Regions from separate parts of the Homo sapiens genome. Here regions 2 and 3 are each linked to region 1. Evidence: promoter capture Hi-C in 16 types of primary human blood cells and fetal thymus (Javierre and others, 2016). All regions are on one chromosome and are shown on one strand. The core of a region is centred on a gene start or on the middle of the fragment in contact, and the rest is flanking DNA. Distances in the headings are between cores, read along the strand shown.

Region 1 (2,700 bases), core at 134-2,633:
GCTTTATAAGTGGAAGTCTAGACTTGAGCCTGGGGGGGCAACTGGAATTTGGGGTGGTGGTGTGTGTGTGAAAGTTGTCAGTACCAAAACAGAGTCACTTACATCAAAACCAAACTAAATGGTGCTCCTGTAGTCCCAGCTACTCCAGAGATGAGGTGGGAAGATCACTTGAGCCCAGGAGTTAGAGGCTGCAGTGAGCTATGATCGCACTATTGCACTCCAGCCTGGGCAACAGAGCGAGATCCTGTCTCAAACAAACTAAATGGTGCTGGGAGGCCATGAAGTGGGGGGCCCTCATCAACGATTTGCCTGGTAACAGGAACTATTATTGCAAAAGATTCCACCAAACTGCAACCTTGCACAAAGAACCACAACCTTGCACAAAAGCCATGATATGAGGACATCTGCCCAGCAACTGCCTGTTCAACTTTTGGACTGAAGCCACCTGTATTAATTCTTGTAACCAAGTATTATTATTTTAAAACGATCTGGCCGGGCGCGGTGGATCACGCCTGTAATCCCAGCACTTTGGGAGGCCGAGGCGGGCAGATCACGGGGTCAGGAGATCGAGACCATCCTGGCTAAAACAGTGAAACCCCTTTTCTACTAAAAATACAAAAAATTAGCCGGGCGTGGTGGCGGGCGCCTGTAGTTCCAGCTACTCGGGAGGCTGAAGCAGGAGAATGGCGTGAACCCGGGAGGCGGAGCTTGCAGTGAGCAGAGATGGCGCCACTGCACTCCAGCCTGGGCGACAGACCGAGACTCCGTCTCCAAAAAAAAAAAAAAAAAAAAAAAACAAAAACAAACAAACAAACAAAAAAAACAGTATATGCAATCCTCCTCGTTTTGCCTTTAAAAGCCTCTGCTTTCCTTTGCCTCCCTGAGTACTCCGCGTCCCCACCCCTTGGGTGCCATGGCACATTTATTCCCGAATTGCAATCCTTCTGCTCAGTCCGAAATAAACTCAATTGGAGAATCTCTGTGTCCTTATTTGAGGTTGATGAAGGTATCTTACAGTTGTGGGAATGATTATCTTTCCGGGGAAAAGGGCAAGAGAGGATCAAGGGAAAGTGAGAGGAGCACCCCCGGAAGGTCACAGCCAACTTTGGTCCCATCATCAGGGCTGCAGTTTTCTGGGCGTTACTGGAACAGCGTCATTAAGCAGGAAGCCCACCCTCTCCTAGCTGGCTCATTAGGAGCTTCCCATTTCTGGTGGGACCACCTCCCGGCCTGGGCGGGCAGAGGGAGCACCCTGCTGGTCGGAGGATGCTCCGAGGCCCGACGCTGCTCCCGGCGGGCTGTCATCCTCCTAGGGGTCGGCCGGCCGGCCTGGAGCCGCCCCGCCCACGGCCGAGGTTTCGGTTTCCCTTGGGAGCCCCGCCCTGTGTCCCGGGGAGCCGGAGGAGGTGGAGATGAATGGCGGGCGCGGCGACCGGGAGCCGGACCCCTGGGAGGTCGGAGCTTGTCGAGGGATGCGGCTGGCGCTGCCCGGAGCATGGCGACCGCGTGGCTGAGCTCTTCTGTCGCCGCTGCCGCCGCTGCGTGTGCGCGCTTTGCCCGGTGCTGGGCGCGCACCGTGGCCACCCTGTGGGCCTGGCGCTGGAGGCAGCGGTGCACGTGCAGGTGGGGACGATGGGGACGGGGTTCGCCGCGCGGGAGTTGGGGGAGCCAGCCCAGGCATAACGGCCGAGGAGGGGGCGTGCCTGGCCGTGGCCAGTGGCGGGTTACAACCTGGAAACCAAAGGTGCCCCAGAGGGCGTCTAAGCGGTCGACCGAAAGTTCAGAGCGGGAGCCTGAGACCCAAGGAAGGGCAAAGGCGAGCCAAAGCCATCAGTTGAGCTTCAGAAAAGGTGGGTTTAGGAGTGAGAGGTTGGGAGCCCAGGCTGGTACCCAGATGTCCTTGACCGTGTCCACCATGGCCGATCCGCCACACTGCCATTGGGCTGGAAGACAGTCTGCCTTTTAGTTAACAGAGGTACAAACTCTCCCTCTTAATAAACAGCCCTGTGTAGCTCAGAAAGCCACACAGACATCTCAGGTTTACTTAATCTGCAGTCCACAGAAAGGGCCTGTGAACTTTGAGCTGAGGACGGCCTGACTGCCCTGGGAGCAGCCTCAGCTGTCACTACCTACCTCCTCTCCCCTCCCCGGCCACACAGACACTCCCATTCCTGCTCATAGCAGCCCTGGGTGAGCCATTATTATTACAGCCATTTTATAGGCCACAAGAGGAAGGCTCTGGAGGCAGGGGCAGGCCTTGAACCCAGGACTCCATTAGCCAGATGCCCCCAACAGGGCCATTGTCACCGTGGAACCCTTACCCATGCATAATCCTAACAGTGCCCCAGGGGCTCTGGGCTCCTGCTCCAGCTTCCCAGCTGACTTTTTCTGTGGCTTCTCTCAAATCCTTCTCTCTCTCTGGGTTTCATGAAGCCTGGGTGAGGTAGGCCCTCATGTCTGACAGCTGTTGATCCTACCACTTGTCTCCAAGAAGTCTTCTGTGATGAATTCAGCCCCATCGTGAGCCTTTCTCCGGTACTGCATGACTCCAGACCACCACACTGTGACAACCTTGGAACTCCAAGGTGAAAAGGGGATCATGGGGGACAATCCAGTGGAGTCGTGGGCTCAAGACCTGTCCCTGCCACCAGACCCTTCCTTTTTTTAACGTATGAAATGGCTGTAATTATAATAATGGCT
Region 2 (2,700 bases), core at 85-2,584, 640 kb before region 1:
CGTTGGCTCATAAAATGAATTGGGAAGTATTGTCTCCTCTTCTAGTTTTCTAGAAGATACTGTGTAGAATTCTTATTACCTTTTCCTTAGATGTTTGATAAAATTTGCCAGGGAAACCATTTGGGCCTGCCGTTTTCTCTTTTGGAAGGTTTTAACTTACAGAATGAATTTCATTAATAGATATAGGACTATTCAGGTGTTCTATTTCTACTTGGGTGAGTTTTTGTACTTTGTATCTTTCAAGGAATTATTCCCTTTTATCTAAGTTGTTGAATTTATGGATATACAGTTGTTAGTAGTATGTATCTATTACTATTTTATTACATAGGATCAGTAGGAATGTCTCCTTTTTCATTCCTCTATTGGTAATTTGTGACTTCTCTCTTTTTTTCTTAATCAGTTTGGCTAGAAGTTTATCAATTTTATTGATGTTTTCAAAGAACCAACTTTGGTTTTATTGATTTTCTCTGTTTTTCTGTTTTCAATTTAATTGATTTCTGCTCTTATCTATAATTTCTTTCCCTCTACTTCCTTTGGGTTTTATCTTCTTTCTCTAGTTCCTTATGGTGGAAGCTTAGATTACAGTTTAGAGATCTTTCTTTTTTTCTAATACAGATATTTAATGCTATAAATTTACCTCTATGTGATGCTTTTTCTACATCCCACAAATTTTGATATATTTTAATTTTAATTCCATTCAAAATATTTTCCCCTTCTCTTGAGATTTCCTCTTTGGCCCATTGATTATTTAGAAATGTATTGTTTATTTTTCAATTATTTGTTAGTTTTCCAGAAATCTTTCTGTTTTTGGGGATTTCAGTTTAATTTGATTATAGTTCTGTTTCTAGTTCTATCCCTTTAAATGTTTTGAGGTCTATTTTGTGCCCTAGAATGTGATCTCTTTTGGTGAATTTCTCATAGGCAATTGGAAAGAAAGTGCATTCTGTTGTTATTGTTGGGGGAGAGGAGTTCTATAAATGTCCATAAATGTATAATTAAGTCTAGTTGGTTGTTACTGTTGTTCATGTCTTCTATATTCTTACTGATTTTCTCTCTACTTGTTCTACTAATTACTGAGAGAGGAATTTTAAAGTGTCCAACTATAACTGCAGTTTGGTCTATTTCTCCTTTCAGTTCTGTTGGTTTTTGCCTCACGAGCTGTGTACACATTTAGGATTGCATGTCTTGGAGAATTGACCCCTATGTTATTATATTATTATAGAAAATCCCTAAGATTTTCTTTTCTCCTAAGATTGGGAACAAGGATGCATTTTTATGACTAACATGAAAAGAAAAATGACAGACCAGTAGCCCTCATGAATATAAATATAAAAATCCTTCACAAAATATGAGCAAATCTAATCCCATGATTAAATACAAAGTATAATACCTTCTGACCAAGTGGGGTTCATCCCAGGAAGGCAAATCTGGTTCACCATTATAAAATCAATCATTAGCCTTCACCGTATGAACAGACTAAAGAATATGCAGAAAAAGCACTTAACAAAATTTAAAATCCATTCATCATTAAAACTCTCAACAAACTAGGAATTGAGGGAAACCTCCTGAATCTGACATAAAACACATATAGCCAGGATTATACTTGATGGTTAAGGATTGTTTTCCTCCTAAGACTGGGAACAAGGATGTTGTCTCTTACCTCCAACTGTCAACTTTGTACCAAATACTATGGCTAGTACAATAAGGCAAGAAAAATAAAAGGCATACAGATGGGAAAGGAAGAAACAAAACTATATCTGTTCTTAGATGACATGACTGTCCACATAGAAAACTGCAAAGAATCTACACAAAAGCTCTTAGGATGAATAAGTGAGTCCAGCAAAGTCTCAGGATACAATACGGGTCAATATCCAGAAGTCAGCTGTATTTCTCTACAGTAGTAATAAACATTTAGCATTAGGACATTTAGAATGTTTTTAATTTGAAATTTTAAAAATATAATACATTTAACATGTATGAAATTGAAGTTATGTGAAAATGTATTATATGGAATATAATATAATACTTAGGTATAAATCTAATATGTGTGGAATCAAAAGGTCAAAAACTACAAAACACTGATAAAGAAGCTTAAATAAATGAAGAGATGGAAGGCTTGTGATTATGAAGATACCAATTCTCTGCAATTTGATCTACAGATTAAATGTAATCCCAGTCAAAATCCCAGCAAGCTCTTTTTGTAGAGATCTAGAAACTGATTATAAATTTTATATTGAGGTACAAAAAATTATAATAGTCATATGAAAAAGAATAAAGTTGGCAGGCTCACACTGCCTAATTTCAAGACTTACCATAAAGCTCCAGTGTGGTATTAGCAAAAGGGCAGACAAATAGATCAGTGGAACAAAAGAGAGAGCCCAAAAATAGACCCGCACAAGAAAAGCCAAATAAATTCTTTTTTTAAAGGTACAAAGGCAATTCAGTGGAGAAAGGGTAGTCTTTTCAATGAAGAGTGCTGGAACAATTGGATGTCCATATTGCAAGAAAAGGAACCTCCACGTGTATCTCACAGTGCCAAAAGCATGATACATAAAAGAAAAAATTGGCAAATTTGGACTTAATCAGAACTCAAATCTTTTGCCTGGTAAAAGATACCATTAAGAAAATGAAAAGTCATGCCACAGACTAGGAGAGAATATTTTCAAATCATAGATCTGGAAAAAGTTTTTTATCCAGGAG
Region 3 (2,700 bases), core at 7-2,506, 690 kb before region 1:
CCGGCCAACGCCAGTAGCGCCAGGAGCACCAACAGCGCCTCCCGGCCGCGCCGCAGTTCCCGCGGGCAGCGCCGCCGCGCCGTGCGCCCCCACATGCGCCCGCCAACTGCAGCCAGCGATCTGCGCGCCCCAAGGCGGCGGTGGAGGCCAGGACCCGGATCCCGGAACCGCCGTGCCGCCCCGCCCCCGGCCCGCCCCACCTGCGCGCCGCCCCCTTTCCGTCCAGCCCCGCGCCAGCCCAAGCGCAGCCCCCGGGGTGGCTCATTTCGGCAGGGTCTTCAAGTGGGCTGGCTGAGACTTGCATCTTCCTTCTTGGGCTATGGTGCATTATTAAAGAGATAGTGGTGGTAAAACCCTTAGCGCCTGGCATATTGTAGGCGCTAAGTGTTGGCTGAATACACCCTGCAGGGTGTTATGAATTCTACTGCCATTATCTCATCTGATCTTTACACAGTCCAATAAAACAACCATCAACTAGGATTACGAGCTCCCTTTTACAGATGAGGAGATGGAGGTGCGATGAGATCAACAGACACCACGCTGCCCCACTGACTTCTGCAGGCCCAGCCTCTGCCATACTCTTTGGAGTCCTTGAATAGCAAACCCTCGCCTGGCTCGCCTCGTGATAGCTCTGTGACCTCTGAGGCTAGGAGCAAAAGGCCATGAAGGCTGTACATGATAGTTCACACCTGTAATCCCAGGCCGAGATAGGAGGATCACTTGAAGCCAGGAGCTTAAAACGAGACTGGTCAACATAGCAAGACTCCCATCTCTACAGAAAAATTTCAGAATTAGCCATGCATGGTGGCACGTGCCTATAGTGCCAGCTACTCAGGATGCTGAAGCAGGAGGATTGTGTGAGCCCAGGAATTGGAGGTTACCGTGAACTATGCGCCACTGCGCTGCAGCCTGGATGACAAAGCGAGATCCTGTTTCTATTAAACAACAACCAAAAAAGGCCATGAAGCTGCCGCCCTGTTCATGAGATCACTGCTGTGGGAGCCTTGAGCTGCCAGGGACGAAGTAAGTCTAATGGAGTAGACAAATATTAAAAAGATAATTAGAATTGTGTTAAGTATTTTGAAGAAGAATTACAGGGCGCTAAAAGGGCTTAGAATAGTAGAACTTGATCTAGTTTGGGGGTTTTGGAAAGCTTCTCTGATGAAGTAATGTCTACACAGATATCTGAATGTAAAAGTGATAGCAGAGATTTCAAATCATATCTTAAATTAATCTGGAACTCCCTCTGCTGGTGTCTAGCTCAGGGAAAAGAATCATTCTGTATCCCCTGTAGAAGGATAGAGTGTAAGCTCTATTTGTTGTTGTTTGTTTTACCATGGGAAGTTGGTCCAAAGCTTTTTATCAAATATTCTCAAGGAGACCAGAAGCCCAGAAAGTTTAAAAAGCACAAATCTGGTCCAATTATCTCATTGATAAATGCGGGGTCTGAGACACAGGGTGGGGAGAGGACCTTGAACTTGGCGGCTCAGGTAGAGGTAGAATCTGACTTGCTGTTGTCTTCATACAGCCTTTGGCTACTGGTATCCCCAGAGGAAATCTCCCTCAGGTTGCAGGAGGGGGGTGGGTTTTGGGATGAACCATGCAAAGCAGCTCCCACTCAGGACAACCTGCTGCTAATATTAGACTAGAGGGAAGTGGCTCTTCCCACAGTGCTCAGGGCCCCGCCTGCTTCCCACGCAGAATGGAGGCTGCTGGTTAATGCCAGAAGGCGGTTGTGTTAGGTAGGTCTGGACCTGAGCCCTTTGGCCTCTGTTCAGACACCCAACACATTTAAGATCTGCGGTCAGATTAGAAAACAGACAAGGATTACAATTCATAATGTCTTGGATCCGCTTGCCAAATTGGAATGCTTCTCAATAGAGGTTCAGATACAGAGAAAAGAGAAATGCAATTAGGCCTTACAAGACATGGACTTAAGCCCCAGGTAACAGATAAAAGCTATTGTTTACTGAGCACACACTGTGTGCTGTAAACTGCTGGACTTTCTTTTTCATGTACTTTCTCATTTCACCCTATGACAACCTTGCAAGGTTGACAGATGAGAATATGTAGGCTCAAGAAGTGAAGCAACTTGCCCAAGGTTACACAACATGCAAGCGGTAGAGGGAGGATTTGTATCTGGGTCTCCTGACTCACAGTCCAGGATTTCCCACCACACCACTCACTGTTGGGCAGGCTGCAATGAGATGCAAAGGCAGCTTAGCTTAGGAGGTCGGAACACAACCTTGGAGCCCACTTGCCTGAGCTCAACCCAGCCCCATCACGAATTGCAGTGTGACCTCAGGCAAGTTGCTTTACTTATCTCGGCTCAATTTGCTCATCTATTAAATGGTGATCTAATGATAGCACCACCTGAACAGGGTTGTTGAGAAGATTGAGTGATACAGTCTGCACAGTCAGCCTCCCGGGGCACAAAACAGAGTGGAGAGAGTGTCAGTAAGGCAAAGGGAAGATGTCCAGCACCTTGCTGAGTGAAGTATGATATTTAGACCAGAAGCATTGGTACCACCTGGGAGCTTGTTGGAAATCTAGCATCTTTTCAACAGAGGTAAAGCCCTTGGGTTTATTGCTATTTTTAGGGGGCTTATCTGTTCACTAACAGTACCATGTTATGTCATCGGCTGCTCACCAACAAGTAGATATCTCTAGAAGATGCTTTTAATTTGTCATATTAGCTCT

The links. Contacts are between HindIII fragments. The CHiCAGO score rates a contact against its expected background, and 5 or more counts as called.
Region 2: a fragment that was not itself captured here is called in contact with the fragment with the promoter of TRIM14 in region 1 in 2 of 17 cell types (endothelial precursors and erythroblasts); the score reaches 6.4 in endothelial precursors.
Region 3: a contact is called between a fragment that was not itself captured here and the fragment with the promoter of TRIM14 in region 1, in 2 of 17 cell types (naive CD8 T cells and megakaryocytes). The highest score is 6.7, in naive CD8 T cells.

What each region holds. Positions count from the first base shown.
Region 1 is chr9:98,117,905-98,120,604 of GRCh38, reverse strand. It overlaps TRIM14 (tripartite motif containing 14), which reads left to right and starts at 1,383. Exons shown (of 6, transcript NM_014788.4): 1 at 1,383-1,623. The coding sequence starts at 1,417. RefSeq lists a silencer at 1,450-1,549 and an enhancer at 1,860-1,909. The HindIII fragment of the contact is 4,863 bases long and covers 1-2,700 here.
Region 2 is chr9:98,761,433-98,764,132 of GRCh38, reverse strand. All of the region lies in intron 11 of ANKS6 (ankyrin repeat and sterile alpha motif domain containing 6), which reads left to right. Among named protein-coding and RNA genes, the nearest start is that of ANKS6, 34 kb to the left of the region's middle. The HindIII fragment of the contact is 1,517 bases long and covers 576-2,092 here.
Region 3 is chr9:98,805,094-98,807,793 of GRCh38, reverse strand. It overlaps GALNT12 (polypeptide N-acetylgalactosaminyltransferase 12), which reads right to left and starts at 124. Exons shown (of 10, transcript NM_024642.5): 1 at 1-124. The coding sequence starts at 95. LOC124902229 (a long non-coding RNA gene) reads left to right here and starts at 214. Exons shown (of 2, transcript XR_007061689.1): 1 at 214-1,023. RefSeq lists silencers at 1-52, 153-242. The HindIII fragment of the contact is 202 bases long and covers 1,156-1,357 here.